Regions from separate parts of the Homo sapiens genome. Here all the other regions are linked to region 1. The links are contacts of gene promoters, found by promoter capture Hi-C in human tissues and cell types (Jung and others, 2019). All regions are on one chromosome and are shown on one strand. The core of a region is centred on a gene start or on the middle of the fragment in contact, and the rest is flanking DNA. Distances in the headings are between cores, read along the strand shown.

Region 1 (2,700 bases), core at 1-2,500:
GGGTGGGATCACAGAACTGTTTGAGCCACATTACTGGTCTGGGTGGTGTCAGCTGATCCATCGAGCGCAGGGTCTGCAAAATATCTCAAGCGCTGATCTTAGGTTTTACAATAGTGATGTTATCCCCAGGAGCAATTTGGGAAGGTTCAGACTCTTGCAGCCAGAGGCTGCTGTGTGACCCCTAAACCATAATTTCTAATGTTGTAGCTAATTTGTTAGTCCTACAAAGGCAGACTGGTCCCAAGGCAGGAAGGGAGCCTTTTTGGGAAAGGGCTATTGTCAATTTTGTTTCAGAGTAAAACTATAAACTAAATTCCTTCCCAAGGTTCGTTCAGCCTATGCCTAGGAATGAACAAAGACAGCTTAAAGGCTAGAAAGGCAAGATGGAGTGGGTTAGGTCTGATCTCTTTCACTGTCATAATTTCCTCAGTTATAATTTTGGCAAAGACAGCTTCAATGCTAGTAAATGTGGCAGTGGGGTTTCACCCCAAGTACTCATCACAATAATAAAGGTTTAAACTACGAAGTACCCAACTGACCCTTTGATCTACCAATCAAATAATAGAATCCGCCAGTTCTTCCCCTTTCCCCTTTTCCTTCTCCGTACTTTCGGATTAATTTTCCCTCCCAAGGGGAAGAAAAGGCAGGCTCTGGGCAACTGTGTCTGAAATTAGGTGGTACAAATGTCTCCTAGTGACTAGAGCTAGGTGACCATACAAGGGTGTGGCACAGAGGAAGGAGCCCCTGGGTTCCTTCTCCAGGGAGATTACCTCCATCCTTTACCAAGTTACTTAACCTCTCTGAACTTTAGTTCAGATGGGATGACGAATATTATCACCTAAAAGTACTGTAATGAGAATCAAGTGAGATATTAATTGTACAGCCCTACAAAAATGCTAGTTATTATCAGGCTTTTCAGATCCCAATAAAGTAGTGGCTAAGTGTCACGACACCAACAAGTTGCATTTGTTATTTCAAGTGACTAAAAGAACCTCCCAAGGCAGTACTGCTTTTCGAAGTTTGTTTCCCTAGAAAAAGAACTTCAATGTGTCCCCTGCTCCTCGGGCACGCTTAAGACAACTATAAGTGAAGTCCCGCCTCCCTGGCCTCTAAACCACGCCCCTGTCCTTGCAAACGCCTGACTTATAAGGGCCTTTCACTCTGATTGATACTTTTATCCACCAATAATAAGTGAAATTCTCGTCAACGTCCGGTGAGGGGGCAGGACTTCCTTGCTGGTTGCTAAGACACTCTTGTTTCGCTCCTTGACAACCCTGGCGGGGGTTCGCTGGCTGCGGCCCCGGCTCCGGCCCCCGCAGGAGCAGGTGAGGCCCCGGGGCGCGGCGGGCAGCCAGGCGGGGAGGGCCGGCCCGGAGGGAGGGCGGGAGGCAACGCAGGGCGGAAGAGGCCTCGCCCGCCGCCGAGGCCCCACCTCGGTCTCCTGCCTGCTGTTCCCCTGCCCCAGGTCTTCCCATCCTCAACCCCCACCCTCACCCCCACTTCGGGACCTGCGAGCTCTGTCGTGACAGGTTTGCCATCGCGACTCTGCCGGCTGCTCTTCCCCACCCACCCAAGGCCTGCCCAGCTTCGTGGTCCCGCGTCCCCCTTTAGCCGACTTCCCCCAGCACCTTGATCCCTCGACCTTTCGCGGAGTAATTCCCTCTCCCGCGGGGTCGCCATCAACTAGGTCAGACCGCTCTTGGCTTGGAGAGTTGGCGACTTACTGGGATTCTGGGCTGGTCATTTCCCCTGTTTGGGCCTCAGTTTCCCCATCTGTAAATGAGAAGTTGAGTTGAGTGATCTCTAAGGCCTCTTCCACTCTGACGTTCTAGGATGTCGTTGTTCTTTGACCCAACTTTAGGCTTCCGAGAGGATGTGCTCCCCAATGGGAGGTATCGTGTATTGTGAAAATAACTTGGCAAACCTAATTTGGATTCCCAGTCTCAAGACCTACCCTCCCTGCGCTTTTAATCAGTGCATATGTAAAATCAGTATACGTCGGTGCATCTCCTTTGGTAATTCTGAGGCTAATATGAAGTACAGAGTCCAGTCCAGTATAGATTCAGTATTTGTTAGTTTCTTTCCTTTGTCTCTTCACCACATTTTCCCTCTCTGGGAAATGTTATCAACCCGGTCAGCATGAACTGTCATTTCTCCAGTTGACCCTCTCTGATCTTCCTCCTGGGCTTCCATGGTTAGGGTTACTTAGGGGTGGGGAGGGGACAGATGGAGATTGAAATACAGTCATGTACCATATAACAACGTTTTGGTCAAGAAAGACCACAGATACCACGGTGGTGCCCTAAGGTTATAATGGAGCTGACAAATTTCTATCACCTAGTTACATAGCTATCGTAATGTCAAAGCAAAATGCATGACTCACGTGTGTGGTGATGCTGGTGTAAGCAAACCTACAGTGCTGCCAGTCATATAAAATATAGCACATACAATTGTGTACAGGACATCATACTTGATAATGGTAATAAATGACTGTTACTTGTTTATGTGTTTACTATCCTACACTTTTATTGTTATTTTACAGTGTACACTCCTCCTACTTATAAGAAAATAAAATTTAACCGTAAACAGTCTTAGATAGGTCCTTCAGGAGGTATTCAAGCAAAAGGCTTTGTTATCATAGGAGATGACAGCTCCATGCGTGTTATTGCCCTGAAGACCGTCCAGCGGGACAAGATGTGG
Region 2 (2,700 bases), core at 156-2,655, 740 kb after region 1:
GGTCTTGAACTCCTGACCTCAGTTGATCCGCCTGCCTCAGCCTCCCAAAGTGCTGGGATTACAGGCGTGAGCCACCGTGCCTGGCCAGCTATGGGACTTGGGTAAGTCAGCCTCTGTGCATCTCAATTTCCTCATCCATAAAATGTGGATGAGCACCCTTATCAGAGTTCTTCTAACCATGCATGGAGGGCACTAACAGCAACCCAGTCCATAGCAGGCACTCCATAAAAATAGGTCCCCCTTCCCTTTCATTTATTCGATCTCTGAGATTTGAGCCAGGTTCTGTCCTTGTCACCTTATCAGGCATCTATGTAGTATGATGGCCACCTACTCCAGGGAGTCTTCCTCTATTAAACTGTCCACCTCCCACCTCTCAACTGCTCGATTACCTCTCGGTTTCCACTATAAATTAGCATTGACTGGTGTTTTATGATAAGTACTCACGCTGATTCACTTATTCATTCAAAAAACATTCGCTAACAACCTACTGACGTCAAGTCCCTTACTAAGTGCTGAGCATAGAGAAAGGCATTGCACCCACTCCTTGATCTGAAAGAGGATATATTCTAATGGGAAAATCTGTCCTACTAACAACCTATGTTGGGAAGGAAGGGTGTCTACAATATTCCTATTCAACCTTCAAAACCTGGTTCAATTGCTACGTCCTCCATGAAGCTTTCCTTGACCATCCCAGCAGAAGCACTGCTCCATCTGCTTTGCTCTTCTTGTCACCAAGTCATGCTAATAGTGCCCTTATGGCACTGAGCTGTGATTATCCCTTTAACTGTCCACAGCCCCCTACAAATAGTGAGCTCCTGGGAGAGCAGGGTCCATTGCTGCTTCAGTACAACAACTGATCCACCGCTGAGAAGCAAGGGTCTGTGGGACTGGGAAGTCCAGGGAAATGAGGAACTTGGGGCTCCTATACTGCTGGAACTTGGGGGAATAAAATACTCACAGTTTATCCTCTTCGATGTCATAATCCAAGTCTGCAAACATGGTTCCGAGAGTTGGAGTGGGCTGGCTAACTGCCCAGCTCGGTAGGGGAATGGGGAACTGGATCCGGGAGAGAAAGGAGCATAGGATTTAAGGAACCCAAGTGCCTAAATGCCAACGCCACCCCTCCCTCCACCACCTCATACGGGACAGCAGTGCCCTCCTCTTCCCTCTGGAGTGGGATGGGACAGTCTCCGGGTGGGGGGCTGGGTAGGTGATTCTTACTAGGTACAAAGGGGGGCTCCAGGCCAGGGCGATAGGCTCAGATCCCAGAGTCCGCCCCACGGGTCTCCAGGCCCTGGGGAGCTGCCTCTGTCGCTCACCGGAAGCGTTGGTCCCACAGCCGGGTCCCGGCCAGGCTGGTACCTGAACCCACCTGCCGTTCCACCTGGCGGTGGCCGCGATTGTCACGTCACTTCCGGCAAGACGCGGAAGTCCCGGCTTTCCCCCCACTGGATATTTGCTCCAATCCCTGCAGACAATCCTTCCCTTCCCGGCTCCCGGGACGCTCGGAACCAAGAACGAGAACAAGTATTGGCGGAAGCTCGCTGTTAGTAGGAACAAGCGAAAACAGAGGAACGGTCTGGACAGGCTGACAGCGTCTAACCCCGCCCTTTGCCCTGCCGCCGCCGCCATCTTGGGAAGGGCAGGGTTTGTCCCAGCTTCCTCAGCTGCACTCAGGGGCCCGCGCCGGCCCGGCGGTTGCCATGGCAACGAAAGCATCCCTGAGCCGGGGTTACCTCCGGCGAGGCTCAGTGGACTATAAACCCCAAGACATCATGCCCTTTCACCCCTTCACCACCTGGGCCTGTGACTCCCCTACTAGAATGGCCCTTTGAGGTCCCAGCCCATCCCAGTTTCGCCAACTTAAGTGCCAAAGAGCGGGGAGTGATTTTGTGCGGGGCCACACACAGTTGGTGTAAGATCTGGATCGTGGCCCTGAAACTCCCGCCGCCTAGTCTAGGGATCTTTGAACGTCCAAACACTAAACAGAGAGCCAGGAGAGGTGTATTCAGTGGGTCTTGCTATTAAGGACAGACTGGACATGCTCCCTTCCCTTTATGTGCCTCAGTTTCCCCATATGTAAACCAAGGCCATTGAGGTAAATGCTTTCTATGGTATATGGTGAAAGGTTTCTCACACCCCCTCCTCCTTCCTTAGTCCTGAGGAGCAGCCCCCCTGGGGTCCCAGGGAGGGTCACGGTCCGCATGTACCTGAGGCTCGGGAAATGCTATCAGTGCTCCCCAGAGTCCGAATCTTGTCTCCTCGCCAGCCTCTGCTGCCACTGCTATTGTGTAAAGTGGGTTCCCTGGGGGAGGTTGGCTCTCCCAGAGCCACAGCCAGGCATCCACCTCATCCGGCAGCATGGGGCCAGGCCCATCCAGCTTGCTTCCCCAGCTGCCCCAGGAGCCATGGAAGAAAGATACAGAAGGATGATTATCCACATATCCCACGGCCGGTGGAAGCCCCGCCCTACTCTCTCCTTAGGTGGCTAATTGAGTCCGGACAGATGTGCAGAATGCCGTGACAATAACAGCCTTCCCACGTGTCCACTGCTCTCCTGTGAGATCACTTTCACAGGATTTGAAAGCTCACCACCACCCTGTGAGAGAAGACCAAATCTTGCCAGCCACATTGTGCAGGCAAGGAAACGGAGGCCCTGGGAAGCCTCTTCCTCTGGTATCATAGCGGCAGGGCTGGGGC
Region 3 (2,700 bases), core at 174-2,673, 690 kb before region 1:
AAAGACAGCACAGAGGCTTCCTCACACACTTCACCCTGTTGCTCCCAGTTTATACCACCATGGTACATTTGTCACAACTAGGAAACGGACATCAGAATGTCACCATCAGCCAAACCCCATGCTGGATTTGGATCCCTCGTTTTATGAATGAGCCGTGCAGCCACAGAGCACCTCCGACCGTAGCCATCCAGCTCATTTCACCCTTGAGTCTAGGCAGGTGGGCAGGCGAGCCAGGAGTTTACATCCATTTGACCAGTGAAGATGCTGGGTGGGGCCAAGTGAGACCAGTGACCTGTCCGGGGGGAACCCACTGAGTCACAGAAAAGGCTGAGACAGAAACCTTGCCTTTGGCATCTGGCACTGTCCCACCTAGATATTCTTAAAATGTTCCCATCTGTGGCTTCTCTTTATTTTTGATTCTTTCTCTGGGTCATGCTCTCCCCCTCACTTTTTTTTTGAGACAGGGTCTCACTCTGTCACCCAGGCTGAAGTGCAGTGGCTAGATCCTGGCTCGCTGCAACTTCCATCTACCAGGTTCAAGCAATTCTCTTGCCTCAGCCTCCCAAGTAGCTGGAATTACAGGCGTGTGCCACCATGCCCTGATAACTTTTGTATTTTTAGTGCAGATGTGGTTTCACTACGTTGGCCAGGCTGGCCTTGAACTCCTGACCTCAAGTGATCTGCCCGCCTCAGCTTCTGAAAGTGCTGGGATTACAGGCATGAACCACCATGGCCAGCCTCCCTACTTTTTAAGGACAGCAAGGTAGGGTGGAAAGATAGGAATTTGGGTTAGGCGTGGTGGCTCACGCCTGTAATCCCAGCACTTTGGGAAGCTGAGGCAGGTGGATCACCAGAGGTCAGGAGTTTGAGACCAGCCTGGCCAACATTGTGAAACCCTGTCACTACTAAAAATACAAAAATTAGCTAGTCATGGTGGTGGGCACCTGTAATCCCAGCTACTAGGGAGGCTGAGGCAGGAGAATCGCTTGAACCAGGGACGTGGGGGTTGCAGTGAGCCGAGATCGCACCACTGTACTCCAACCTGGGCAACAGAGTGAGACTCCGTCTCAAAAAACAACAAACAAACAAACAAAAAAAAACAAGGCTCCTAATCATTCTGAACCTTAGTTTCTCCATCTGTGAAATGGGCACAGAGTTCCTGGCATGCAGCATGCTCAATAAGCTCTTGTTCCCTTCAATGCTCAAGGCTGGATGCCCGCAGTTTAATTTTCTACAAGCCACATGGTCGTAAGGCACAGAATCACAACACGATTGATCTAGAAATTTTAAGGACCATCTCCTCCAACTCTTTCATTTTATAGAGGAGGAAACCAGGACCTAGGGGCCTTCAGGGACCTGCCCAAAGTCACAACAGAGCTGGAGTGTGAACCGGGCAGCTGGGCTCCTGCACCAGGTGCCCCTCATGACCTCAGCTTGCGAGGAGTCCTGAGCAGGCTGGTAAGAAGCAGTGGAGCTGCTGATCCCGACAATCAGGGCAGCGTTTGCCCCATTCGAGCTCAGATATCCCTCCTCCAGTAAACGCCTGCCCCCCTGGAGCTGTCCACACGGAGTGGGCACAGCTGACTGCGGGCAGGTAGAACAATCTGGGGTAGGGGCCTGACCTCTGCTAAATGTCCCAGGGCAGAGCTGGGGCTGTTCGCCACTGGAGTTTGGAAGGAGGGGCTGCTCCTTGATAACATTTTGAAGTGGGTCTTCTGCACTTCATTCTCCATTTTGGATTCCAGCCCTTGTCTGGCAAAGTGAGACCAGTTGGGCTGGACCAGCTGGGTGAGCAAAAGGGGCTAGGAGTGCTGTGGCCAGGACCAGACACAAGGCAATACTGCAGCCGGGGTTAGCATGGCGGAAGCTTCCAGAGCAACCTACTCTTGGGGTTTCAGGACTTGGAAAGGCAGCCTGGATCCTTCTGGTGGGCTATTTTTCTTTTCTTTTTTTTTTTAATTTTTTAATTTTTTTGAGACGGAGTTTTGCTCTTGTTGCCCAGGCTGGAGTGCAATGGTGCGATCTCAGCTCACCACAACCTCTGCCTCAAGCAATTCTCCCGCCTTAGCCTCCTGAGTAGCTGGGACTACAGACATGCACCACTACACCGGCTAATTTTGTATCTTTAGTAGAGGTGGGGTTTCACCATGTTGGTCAGGCTCGTCTCGAACTCCTGACCTCAGGTGATCTGCCCGCCTTGGCCTCCCAGAGTGCTGGGATTACAGGTGTGGGCCACTGTGCCTAGCCTTAGTGGGCTATTTTTCTGTACTTGGGACCTGCCTCTGAGGGGGACACTCTAAGTTACACAACTGGTGTAAGCTATGTGGCAGGCATGGCCTGGGGCTGCCATTCAGACTCTAAATCCCCTGGCAGCATGAACAAAGGCTTTAGCAAAGCAAGGTAAGAGGAACTCAGAGAGGCAAGGAAACAGCCTGCTTGGCGTAAAGGGCCTCCGTGGACCTGCTGAGGTCAGATTGACCCAGCTGCCCCTTGGCTGGCTTTCAGGATCTAGTTACTCATAGCCAGCTGTGCCCTTCTGAGCACGGACTCACCAGTGCTTGGGAGCTCCCCTCTCAGTCACTGGAGCCTTCAGGACAGGGCCCCTTAATAAGGCCTCAGTCTGGGTTGCTGCTGAGAATCAAGGATCTGGGCATGTTTCCCTCATCACTCAGGCTGCTAGGAGGCTCAGAAGCACACAGT
Region 4 (2,700 bases), core at 12-2,511, 590 kb before region 1:
GCCATGCACCGCGGCTCATGCCTGTAATCCCACAACTTTGATAGGCCAAGGTGGAAGGATTGCTTGAGGCCAGGAGATCAAGACCAGCCTGGGCTAAAATATGCACCTCTGGCATATTGACTATGTTGAGTTAAAGGCACTTGAAAAACAGCAGGCACAATAACAATCTGATCTTCTTCTTGAAAGCAGGAGAGGCCAGGCGCGACAACTCATGCTTGCAATCCCAGCACTTTGAGAGGCCAAGATGGGCAGATTACTTGAGGTCAGGAGTTTGAGACCAGCCTGGCCAACATGGTGAAACCCCATCTCTACTGAAAATTAAAAAAATTAGCTGGGCATGGTGGCATCACCTGTAATCCCAGCTACTCGGGAGGTGCAAGCAGGAGAATCGCTTGAACCCAGGAGGCGGAGGTTGCAGTACCCTGAGACAGCGCCACTGCACTCTAGCCTGGGCAACAAAGTGAGACTGTCTCAAAAAAAAAAAAAAAAAAAAAAAAGGCCAGCTTGGGCAACATAGCAAGACCCCATCTCTACCAAAAAAATCCACAAAAACCAAATTAGCCGGGCATAGTGGTACTGGCCTGTAGTCCCAGCTACTCAGGAGGCTGAGGTGGGAGGATTGCCTGAGCCTATGGGTTTGAGGCTGCAGTGAGCTATGATCCAGCCTGGGCAACAGAGTGAGACCCTGTCTCTAAAAAAAAGGAAAGATGCCTGGGTCACCGAAGACCTCTGGAGCCAGTATGCCAGCCCTGGACCACTTCCACAGCCTTGGACTTTGTTGAAATCACTGTTATCTGGGATTTCGGTCACCTGCTGCTGAACCTAATTCTAAGTGAGAAACTGAGTTAAATAGAGTGAAACAAGTTTCAGGATCATCTGACTTGGCAGAGCCCTGACTATTCAATGTGACCGCGCCTAGCCTGAAGCCGCCCCGTTTTTTTTTTTTTTTTCACAGATCTCAGATTGGGAAAGACTTGTCTACAGCACACATGCATGGTTAGGAAATTATTTTTCAATAAAAGCAATTACATTGTTATTAAGGACAATGACACTGACCACACTGAGCTAAGTCAAAGTTTAAGTAAATCAAACTTGTCATTAGAAAAGCAGCTTAGAGGTTTATTGCAAAAGCCTTCTCCAGAAACTTTCCCGGCCCGGGGAATCTGCCTGTGATGGGAATGTGCTGATACTCTCCAGACCCCTGTTTTAGGGCTGGGAAGATTGAGGCCTAGAAAAGGAAGTGCCCGTGGCAGAGTTACTGCTAGAACCCTTCCCTAAACATGGGGTCCTACCCCTTCCCAGGTCAGGGCGCCCTCACCTCCTTCCCTTTCACTGGCCCCTGACGAGGCACTAAGTCAACCAACAACCTAAAGAGCCACTTAGTGAAGAGGTAGAGAGTGAATATACCTAGCGTTTTATTCCACAAAGTTCCAGAAACCCAGTGACTGGGCATTTCCTTTTTTTTTTTCTTTTTTTTTTTGAGACAGAGTCTCGCTCTGTCACCCAGGATGGGGTGCAATGACACAACCTTGGCTCACTGCAACATCTGCCTCCTGGGTTCAAGTGATTCTCCTGCCTCAGCCTCCCAAGTAGCTGGGATTACAGGTACCCGCCACCACACCAAGCTAATTTTTGTATTTTTAGTAGAGACGGGGTTTTGCCATGTTGGCCAGGCTGGTCTCAAACTCCTGACCTCAGGTGATCCGCCTGCCTTGGCCTCCCAAAGTGCTGGGATCACAGGCATGAGCCACCATGCCCAGCTAGGGCATTACCTTTTGATTGTACTCATTGACCAAAGTTCTGAGGGGAAGCACTTTCTGGGAGGTGGGTATTTAAAGCAAAGTGCCAGCACCTTGGGAAAGGCAGACTAGGTCTAAAGAAATTGGGCTAAGGGATAAGGTGTAGCCCTCTGGGGTTTCCCACTATGTTAGCATGAGGTCCTGGCTGCTGGGGGCTCAGACGCCGGAGCCTGAAGAAGCAGGGGAGGTGAAGAGCCCCCTGAGGGTACACTTGAGCCCTGGCCAGCCCACAGGAACTGACTGAATGAACCTTGAGAGCAATGTCTGTAGACGCGGTTCTCCCCGAGCTCCCTGGCTCTACTATCCAGGCTGGTTTCCTGTACAGAGGCAGAGGGCTGGAGCAGATGACCCCTACTGATCCTTCTAGGGAGATGCCTCTGGCTGTAGGCACTCATACTGTCTCTGTGTTCAGCTCTCTGCCCTCACTAAGTCAAAGCTTCATTTGGGCAACCAGTTTAAGGGGCCACAAGACAGGAGCAAAGGAGAGGCCTGGGCCCCCGCTGGCCTGGGCTGCAGAGGGAGGATGGGAGTTCTACTGAGAGCCCAGGGACCTGGTGGTCCCCTGGCCCCACTTTCTCAGTGTAGGTGCTCTCTCTGCAGCATCTCCAGCGTGCAGCAGGCAGTCTGCATCTGCACTGGGATGCCTCCAGTGCCAGGAAGCTCACTCTCGATGTGCTCAGGCCCTCGCAGGGTTGAGGCATTGCTTTGGGGGAACTGTCTGTGCTCCACCAGCCTCCTCAACTCCAGCAGAGAGTGGAGGAATGGGTGAGTTCCTGCCCAGGCAGCTGGGGGCCTCAAGCAGGAAACCTGTGTAGAACCAGAGACCAAAATCCTTTGGAGGAACAAGGATTCATCACATGAGAATTACTCTTAAAGTAGAGATTCTGGAGGTGCCCCTGAC
Region 5 (2,700 bases), core at 14-2,513, 610 kb before region 1:
TTTTTTTTGAGACACAGTCTCGCTCTGTCGCTCCAGGCTGGAGTGCAGTGGCCCGATCTTGGCTCGCTGCAAGCTCCGCCTCCTGTGTTCAAGCTAATTCTCCTGCCTCAGCCTCCCGAATAGTTGGGACTACAGGCGCCCCCACCACGCTCGGCTAATTTTTGTATTTTTAGTAAAGACGGGGTTTCACCATGTTGGCCAGGATGGTCTTGATCTCCTGACCTCGTGATCCACCCGCCTCAGCCTCCCATAGTTCTGGGATTACAGGCATGAGCCACCGCGCCCGGCGGAGTTTACTTTCTAGTACAGGAGGCAGACAAGTCCATAGACAATTCTAACAGTGCCATGCATAGGAAGGACCCAGGAGGCCAGCACCCTACCCTGGTAGGTCAGAGTAGTCCATGGTGCCAACATGTGTGTGCATCTATGTGCACATACGCGTCAGAGGACGCAGGGCCTGGAAGACAGCGCCAAACCCATGAGGGTCCAGACCGGGGGTAGGGATGAGTCTGAAGACAATTCTTCCACTCAGCGCTCTCGCCTTAGGAGAAGGAAACTGAGGCTGAGGGAGACACAGTCAGAGCCAGGACCAGAACCCAGTGACAGCTACCACTGGTCATTCCTTTAGTACAGCCCAGGGGTTAAGGGGGTTTCTGGAATCACACTGCCTGATTTTAATCCTGCCTCAATACGTACCATTTGTGTGGCCTTAGGCAAACGACCACCTCAGTGTCTCAGTCTGTCAAATAGGAATAACAGTAGCACCTATCTCAGGGGGCTGCTACGAAAATGAAACTGACAAATGTAAAGCAATTAACACAACGCCGGGGATGCAGTAAGCGGTACACTGTGGATGCTGCTGTTATTATCATTGCACGTCTGCTCGGTGTCGCAGTGGGCTCGAGACTCGGATAGCTCTGCTGCCGCCCGCCGTGTTCCCTTCTGGCTCCAGGACGCTCCCGCCCTCGACGCCCGGCAGCAGCAGCCCACAGCCCCGGCGCCCTTGACCCGGGGGCCGGGCCCGCCGCGCACACACGCCCTGGCCTCGGGAACGAGGGGGCCAGCCCGAGGAGAGGAGAAGGTGGCTGACACACCCCACCACGGAGAGGGTGGCTGTCCAAACTCGGAGAAGGAGCCGTTCCTGCACCCGACAGCACCCCCGCCCAGGCTCCCAACCCCAAGCCCAGAGAGCGGGCCTGTTCCTCACACTCTGCAGCAAGCTCCTCCTCTGCGCCGCCATCTTGGAGGAACCCCTGCGGGAGCGCCCGCCTCCCCGCAGAGCAGCGAGTGGGGCGGCTAGAGCGGCCCGAAGGAGGCGAGGATGACCGCGCTGCCGGGGAGCATGCGCCCAGCGCCACCCCACGCCCGAAGAGGGATGGGGGTCGTAGCGGACCGTGTGCGCAGGCGCGCTCTTGCACGTTTTGTTGTTGTTGTTGTTGTTGTTGTTTTGTTTTGTCTTTTCCTCGGGGCCGATTGCTCCTCGCCCATCTTTATTATTTTTTGAGATAGGGTCTCACTCTGTCACCCAGGCTGGAGTGCAGTGGCGCGATCACAGCTCCCTGCAACCTCTGCCTTCCGGCCTCAAGCGATTCTCCTTCCTCAGCTTCCCGAGTAGCTGGGATTACAGGTGCCCGCCTCTCCTGCCCCAGCCTCCGGAGTAGCCGGGACTACAGGCATGAGCCACCACGCCCGGCTAATTTTTGTATTTTTAGTAGAAACGGGGTTTCGCCATGTTGGCCAGGCTGGTCTTGAACTCCTGAGGGTTCTTTGTGAACACAGTTGGTAAGGGGAGGACAATTCATTCACTCAGCAAATGCTACCTAGGTGACCCTGCTTGGCTCTATAGTGGGTTCTGCAGCGAGCAGGACAGGCCTTCAAAAAGCTAACATTTTATTTTATTTTATTTCATTTCATTTTATTATTATTTTATGTTATGTTATGTTATGTTATTTTTGAGACGGAGGCTTGCTCTGTCGCCCAGGCTGGAATGCAGTGGCGTGATCTGGACTCACTGCAACCTCTGCCTCCCGGGTTGAAGCGATTCTCCTGCCTCAGCCTCCCGAGTAGCTGGGGTTACAGGCGCCCGCCACCACGCCCAGCTAATCTTTTACATTTTTTGTAGAGACGGAGTACCGCTATGTTGGCCAGGCTGGTCTCAAACTCCTGGCCTAAAACGATTCTTCTGCCTGGGCCTCCCAAAGTGCTGGGATTACAAGTGTGAGCCACCCCGCCCAACCTAAAATGTTAACATTTTAATTGGAGAGGACAACATTTATGTATATAAGACATTCTGCCGGGGGCAGGCGCGGTGGCTCATGCCTGTAATCCCAGCACTTTGGGAGGCCGAGGCCGGTGGATCACCTGAGGTCAGGAGTTCGAGATCAGTCCAGCCAACATGGTGAAACCCCATCTCTACTAAAACTACAAAAAATTAGCCAGGCATGGTGGTGCACGCCTGTAATCCCAGCTACTTGGGAGGCTGAAGCAGGAGAATCACGAACCTGGGAGGTGGAGGTTGCAGTGAGTGAGCTGAGATCACTCCACTGCACTCCAACCTGGGCAACAGAGTGAGACTCTGTCTTAAAAAAAAAAAAAAAAAAAGCACACTTGTCACGGGAGCCCACTGTGGCTTGCACAGAGTTGGAGGAGAGAGATGAAGGGGTTGTAGGGACAGGCTCTGACCAAGTGGGCCCCAGGCAG
Region 6 (2,700 bases), core at 3-2,502, 700 kb after region 1:
TTTTATTTTGCTATCTCCATCCATTTCTTCCTTTGTTTCTGGGTTTGCTTGTATCACTGTATATTCACTCATTTATTCACTCGTGATATTGTTTGTTTTTAATGCATTCACGAATTCATGCATTTATTTATTCATGTGTGGACCATTTTTTAATTCCTGTTTGTATATTCTCACAATTCACAAATTCATTGATAGGTGTGCTCAGTTATCGTCTATTAATTTTATCATATTATTTATTTATTTATTTTTTGAGACAGAGTTTCACTCTTGTTGCCCAGGCTGGAGTGCAACGGCACAATCTCGGCTCACTGCAACCTCTCCCTCCCGGGTTCAAGCGATTCTCCTGCCTCAGCCTCCCGAGTAGCTGGGACTACAGGCATGTGCTATCACGCCCGGCTAATTTTTGTATTTTTAGTAGAGACGGGGTTTCGCCATGTTGGCCAGGCTGATCTCAAACTCCTGACCTCAAGCGATCTGCCTGCTTCGGCCTCCCAAAGTGCTGCGATTACAGGCATGAGCTACCATACCCAGCCATTTTATCATATTATTTAAATCCTCTATGCTCTTGCATTGTTCTGTCTGCTAGACTAGTCAGACTCTCTCATCTCTCATTGGATTTCTAATAGATTTCACTTTCTGAATTGAGCTGCCATGTTGTTTGGCGTTTTTTGGCTATAACTATTCTACCTTCTTTGTAAATATTGCCATTTATGTACTTAATGTCTCTCTTAAGTTTGATGCTTTTAATTCCGCCTTGTCTGATATTAATACTGCTCTATTTTCTCTTCTCTTTGCTTATCTCTTTGTATGTTAAGTATACTTTCTGTTACTGACTTTTGAGTTTTTGACCAGTCTTACAGTCTGTGTCTTCTAATAGAAAAGGAATTCAGCCCATTCCCATTTAACATAATAATGAAGATACCTGGGTTTTATTCCTTTTAGATAACTTGAGCTAACTGTATTTACTTTGTCATTTCCTCTTTTTCTCCCACACTATTTCTTGTCAGTTTGGTTGAGTTATTATACTATACATTCCCCTTTTCCCTTTATTAATTTAGAAATTGCACTATTTTTTTCTCTCTACCTGTGGTGACCTCACTTTGTGACTTTCATAATCACATATATATCCACCTATTTTCCAAAAATGCCAACTTCACCCTACTACAGACACACACTGTTCAGTCCATCGCTCCGCCAATTCATAAGATGAGACCTTGATTTAAAGCTTTCCACAAAAATTAGGCTGGGCGCGGTGGCTCACACCAGTAACCCCAACACTTTGGGAGCGCGAGGTGGGTGGATCGCTTGAGGTCAGGAGTTCGAGACCAGCCTGGCCAACATGGCGAAACCCCGTTTCTACTAAAAATACAAAAATTAGCTGGGCGTGGTGGCAGGCACTTGTAATCCCAGCTACTCAGGAGGCTGAGGCAGGAGCATTGCTTGAACCTGGGAGGCAGAAGTTGTAGTGAGCCAAAATCAAGCCACTGCACTCCAGTCTGGGCGACAGAGTGAGACTAAGTCTCAAAAAAAAAGATGAGATAATACCTTAAGAAGTATTTTCCTGCCCTCCAACTATTCTGAGGTGGGGCCTTTGGAAAGCTTTTACTCCTGTCTTCATCCTTCCCATCCTCCACTTCCTGGTTTTGCCAAGATAGTTTAGGACTTAGTTTCAGACCTCACTAGTCATCTCTGCAGCATGACCCTTGTATTTTGATAAACTGATTTTATTTATGTGTGTATGTATTTATTTATTTTGAGACGGAGTCTTGCTCTGTTGCCCAGGCTGGAGTGCAGTGGCGCAATCTCAGCTCCCTGCAACCTCCACCTCCCAGGTTCAAGTGATTCTCCTGCCTCAGCCTCCCAAGTGCTGGGATTACAGGTGTGCGCCACCATGCCCAGCTAATTTTTGTATTTTTAGTAGAGACAGGGTTTCACCATGTTGGCCAGGGTGGTCTCGAACTCCTGACCTCAGGTGATCCACCTGCCTCGGCCTCCCAAAGTGCTGGCATTACAGGCATGAGCCACCACGCCCGGTCCTGGCTTGGGGTTCTTATCCCTCCCACGCCTCCCACGCCTCCCACGCCCTCCCCGAGTCTCTGGATCTGAACCCACGGGCCCAGGGATACATGACTGGATCCAAAGACCCAGATTTCGGCTCAGGCTCTCATCTGCCCACTGTCACCGCCTCACCCGGCCCCAGGCTCAGCCTTCTCGTCCCCTGCTATCCCACAAAAGGTCTGCCAGGGAGAAACAACTTCCTTTTTTGAAAAACAGTTTTATTGAGATATAATTCACATACGATTCACCCATTTACAGTGTACACTTTCTGGTTTGTAGTATATTCACAGAGTCATGCATCCATCACCACTATCAAGCTTAAAATATTTTCAATACCCTCCACCACAGTAACCCAGTACCTCGGCCAGGCGCGGTGGCTCACACCTGTAATCCCAGCACTGTGGGAGGCCGAGGCGGGTGGATCACCTGAGGACAGGAGTTCGAGGCCACCCTGGCCAACATGGTGAAAACCCGTCTCTACTAAAAATACAAAAGTTAGCCAAGCGTGGTTGTACATGCCTGTAATCCCAGCTACACAGGAGGCTGAGACAGGAGAACTGCTTGAACCCAGGAGGTGGAGGTTGCAGTGAGCCAAGATTGCACCACTGCACTCCGGCCTGGACAAGAGCGAAATTCCGTCTC
Region 7 (2,700 bases), core at 122-2,621, 630 kb before region 1:
TGATTGGTTTGGACTTGGCAGCGCTATGGGGAGAGAGTGGAAGGAAGAGCTTTGCTTGGAACAGCCCGCAGGTGGATGCTGATTCTGCTGAGGGGAGGAATCTATGCCCAGAATGTAAAATAAAACACACAACCTGACAAGAGGAAAAGAAAAGAGAGAAAGAGAAGGTCAGAAAAATAGACCCATCGTCTTACAGCAGCTGCTAAAATAAAGCTTGGAAGGCCATAAAAACTGGCAGGCAGCTGAGGTCAGGATGGCAAAGGTTGAATGCCCGATTCTGGCCTGTTCCATACGTCCTGTTCACAGGGTCCGGTGGTGGCAGGGCAGGGTGTGGGACAGCAAGAGGGAGGGATTATCCCTGGGAGCCCAAGCCTCTTGCTATTATTTGGGCTTTTCCAAAACAGATGGCTGAGACCCCAGATACTCTCCATGTGTACAGGGATCCTTTAGTGACTGGGGTCAGAGTCATTACATGCCAACACATGTGTGTGCACATGGAGGTAAGTACATGAGGAGGTGCTGGCAACACCATCCAGAAGAGCGGAGTCTAAGAACTTCCTGAGGGTCCGTCAGCCAGGGCTGGGCCCTGGGAGCGGTTATTACACAGAATGACGCCATCCTAACTGCAGGTGAGCAGAATGAAGAGATGAGCACCTTTAATGATAGCAGTGAGGGGTGTGTAAACATATCTCCAAACTCATCAAGTTGTATGCATGAAATAGGCACAGCTTTGCATATGCCAATTACACCTTAGGGTTTAAAAAAAAAGAAAAGAAGGAGGAGCAGGACACACCAGCACCTGGGAGGGGCAGGACACACCAGCACCTGGGAGGGGCAGGACACACCAGCACCTGGGAGGGGCAGGACACACCAGCACCTGGGTGTTCCGAAAAGGATGCAGGCTCCTTGGCCCCCAGGACAAACACACACACACACACACACACACACACACACACACACACACACAGAGAGAGACACCCCAGCACCTGGGTGTTCCGAAAAGGATGCAGGCTCCTTGGCCCCCAGGACAAACACACACACACACACACACACACACACACACACACACACACAGAGACACCGTGTGTGTATATGTGCATGTGGCCAGATTTTGGAACAGGATACACAAGAAACTAGCAGCCTCTGGGGAGGCAGCGAGTCCTAGAGTGTGGTGTAGGAAGACTTCCTTTCCCTGTATAGACCCCAGCACTGTCTGAAGTGTTTTAAACTATGGATGTCCTTTCCAATAAAGGAAACAGGACCCCACAAATTAGGGACAAATATTCGACACTCAGTTGCCTAGATCGCGTGAGGGCAAGGAGTTCTAACATGCACTTTCTAGGCCATGAGGCCTCTGTTGATGGGAACTCTGGCTTTGGGAACAGCCTTGGCCATGACATTAAATGCCATGATTGGCATCAGGCAAGTGGACGCGCCTATCTCCCCAACCAACACTTCACATACAGGTTACCTGACGGTTAAGGACACATATTCCAAATTCAGGCTGCCTGTGTTCAAGCCCCATGACCAGGGTGGGCTGCCTGATGTCTCCATGCCTCAGTTTCCTCTTATGAAAATGCCTCTGGGGTGATGGCAGTGACTGCCTCAGGGGGCCTGAGTAGGGAATGCATAAAAGAAGGTACATCCAGAGCTCTGCACGGGCTTGGCCGTGTGATGATGACTGCCCATTCTGCTGCCATGAGCGCTGGGGTGATGTCCAGAGGAGGTGTCCTCAGAGGGAAATACACAATTCATCTCACACCTCTGCTGCAGCCATGGGCAGCACCGACCAACAGGCCTGGTCTGTCCATCCCATGCCAACTCTGGCTTCGCCTGCCTCCCTTGTGGCACTAGTTGCTGCCCTCAGCTTTGGCCCAGCTCAACTCCACCCCTTGTTTCTACAGTACCCAACTCCTGGCCTGCTGGGCCTAACCTGCCCCAAACCAACCTCTCTGGGAGGAAGAAAGAGTTTGCCTGGGCTCTGAACTACTTTGACTGCACATGTGTCACTGGGGCCTACAGTCTGCGTCTGCCCCAGGCCTTCTGGACCTTTTTTTTTTTTTGAGACAGGGTCTTGCTCTGTTGCCCAGGCTGGAGTGCAGTGGCATGATCACGGCTCACTGCAGCCTCGACCTCCCAGCACAATCAATCCTCCCATCTTGGCCTCCCTAGGACCTTCTGTTCTTTCAAGCACAGGGGACAGCTGGGCTGGCACCTACCTGAGAAGGTCAATGTCCGTGTAGCCATATTTAACCTTGTAATCCCCGATCCGCCGGGTGCTCTCCTGCCCACAGATGATCCCCACCTGCTTGATCTTTCCAGCATCCAAGCCTACGGAGGGAAACAGTGCAACAATCCTGCTTCTTGTTCACAAAGAGGAACAAAAAGAAGGGGACAGAGACACAGTCATGGGAAGAAGGCAATAAGGACCCACTGAATAGGAAATGAAGACAACACCAGGGCACCTGGGAGAGCAGCTGACCCAAAGTCCCTGGTGTCCTCAGTCCCCACGCCCATCACGACACACCTCACTCAGAGCCCGTCCTCCAGGCACCACCTGGCACGGAGCAGCTTGCCTGCCGTCTCCCTGCCCATCCCGTGTGCCCCACATCTGCCTGGAGCTCACTGGGAAGGGAAGGAGCAGCTCAGCAGCAGCTGGGCTCCCTGGACTTCTTTGGCCTCTTTCAGTCTCCACCAATA

Evidence for each region. Contacts are between HindIII fragments. The study calls those that stand out against the background at their distance.
Region 2: a contact is called between the fragment with the promoter of PICK1 here and the fragment with the promoter of DNAL4 in region 1, in 3 of the 25 tissues and cell types used here (bladder, lymphoblastoid cells and mesenchymal stem cells).
Region 3: a contact is called between a fragment that was not itself captured here and the fragment with the promoter of DNAL4 in region 1, in 3 of the 25 tissues and cell types used here (H1 embryonic stem cells, dorsolateral prefrontal cortex and lymphoblastoid cells).
Region 4: a contact is called between a fragment that was not itself captured here and the fragment with the promoter of DNAL4 in region 1, in 5 of the 25 tissues and cell types used here (adrenal gland, bladder, heart left ventricle and 2 more).
Region 5: a contact is called between the fragment with the promoter of TAB1 here and the fragment with the promoter of DNAL4 in region 1, in 4 of the 25 tissues and cell types used here (adrenal gland, dorsolateral prefrontal cortex, lymphoblastoid cells and 1 more).
Region 6: a fragment that was not itself captured here is called in contact with the fragment with the promoter of DNAL4 in region 1 in 2 of the 25 tissues and cell types used here (lymphoblastoid cells and mesenchymal stem cells).
Region 7: a contact is called between a fragment that was not itself captured here and the fragment with the promoter of DNAL4 in region 1, in 1 of the 25 tissues and cell types used here (lymphoblastoid cells).

The regions. Positions count from the first base shown.
Region 1 is chr22:38,792,693-38,795,392 of GRCh38, reverse strand. DNAL4 (dynein axonemal light chain 4) reads left to right here and starts at 1,250. Exons shown (of 4, transcript NM_005740.3): 1 at 1,250-1,325. RefSeq lists a silencer at 1,059-1,508. The HindIII fragment of the contact is 13,707 bases long and covers 1-2,700 here.
Region 2 is chr22:38,056,109-38,058,808 of GRCh38, reverse strand. PICK1 (protein interacting with PRKCA 1) reads right to left here and starts at 1,405. Exons shown (of 13, transcript NM_012407.4): 1 at 1,222-1,405; 2 at 959-1,056. The coding sequence starts at 999. RefSeq lists enhancers at 704-1,327, 1,572-1,631, 1,328-1,953. The HindIII fragment of the contact is 14,484 bases long and covers 1-2,700 here.
Region 3 is chr22:39,482,760-39,485,459 of GRCh38, reverse strand. The region is part of intron 1 of MGAT3 (beta-1,4-mannosyl-glycoprotein 4-beta-N-acetylglucosaminyltransferase); the gene reads right to left. Among named protein-coding and RNA genes, the nearest start is that of MGAT3-AS1, 7.3 kb to the right of the region's middle. The HindIII fragment of the contact is 5,623 bases long and covers 1-2,700 here.
Region 4 is chr22:39,378,414-39,381,113 of GRCh38, reverse strand. The region is part of intron 3 of SYNGR1 (synaptogyrin 1); the gene reads right to left. Among named protein-coding and RNA genes, the nearest start is that of TAB1, 20 kb to the left of the region's middle. The HindIII fragment of the contact is 3,186 bases long and covers 1-2,700 here.
Region 5 is chr22:39,398,343-39,401,042 of GRCh38, reverse strand. TAB1 (TGF-beta activated kinase 1 (MAP3K7) binding protein 1) reads right to left here and starts at 1,263. Exons shown (of 11, transcript NM_006116.3): 1 at 1,208-1,263. The coding sequence starts at 1,240. RefSeq lists a silencer at 905-1,044 and an enhancer at 1,205-1,324. The HindIII fragment of the contact is 8,049 bases long and covers 1-2,700 here.
Region 6 is chr22:38,094,206-38,096,905 of GRCh38, reverse strand. The region is part of intron 7 of BAIAP2L2 (BAR/IMD domain containing adaptor protein 2 like 2); the gene reads left to right. Among named protein-coding and RNA genes, the nearest start is that of SLC16A8, 11 kb to the right of the region's middle. The HindIII fragment of the contact is 3,515 bases long and covers 1-2,700 here.
Region 7 is chr22:39,419,150-39,421,849 of GRCh38, reverse strand. TAB1 (TGF-beta activated kinase 1 (MAP3K7) binding protein 1) reads right to left here. Exons shown (of 11, transcript NM_006116.3): 7 at 2,220-2,331; 8 at 1-23. Among named protein-coding and RNA genes, the nearest start is that of TAB1, 21 kb to the right of the region's middle. The HindIII fragment of the contact is 5,458 bases long and covers 1-2,700 here.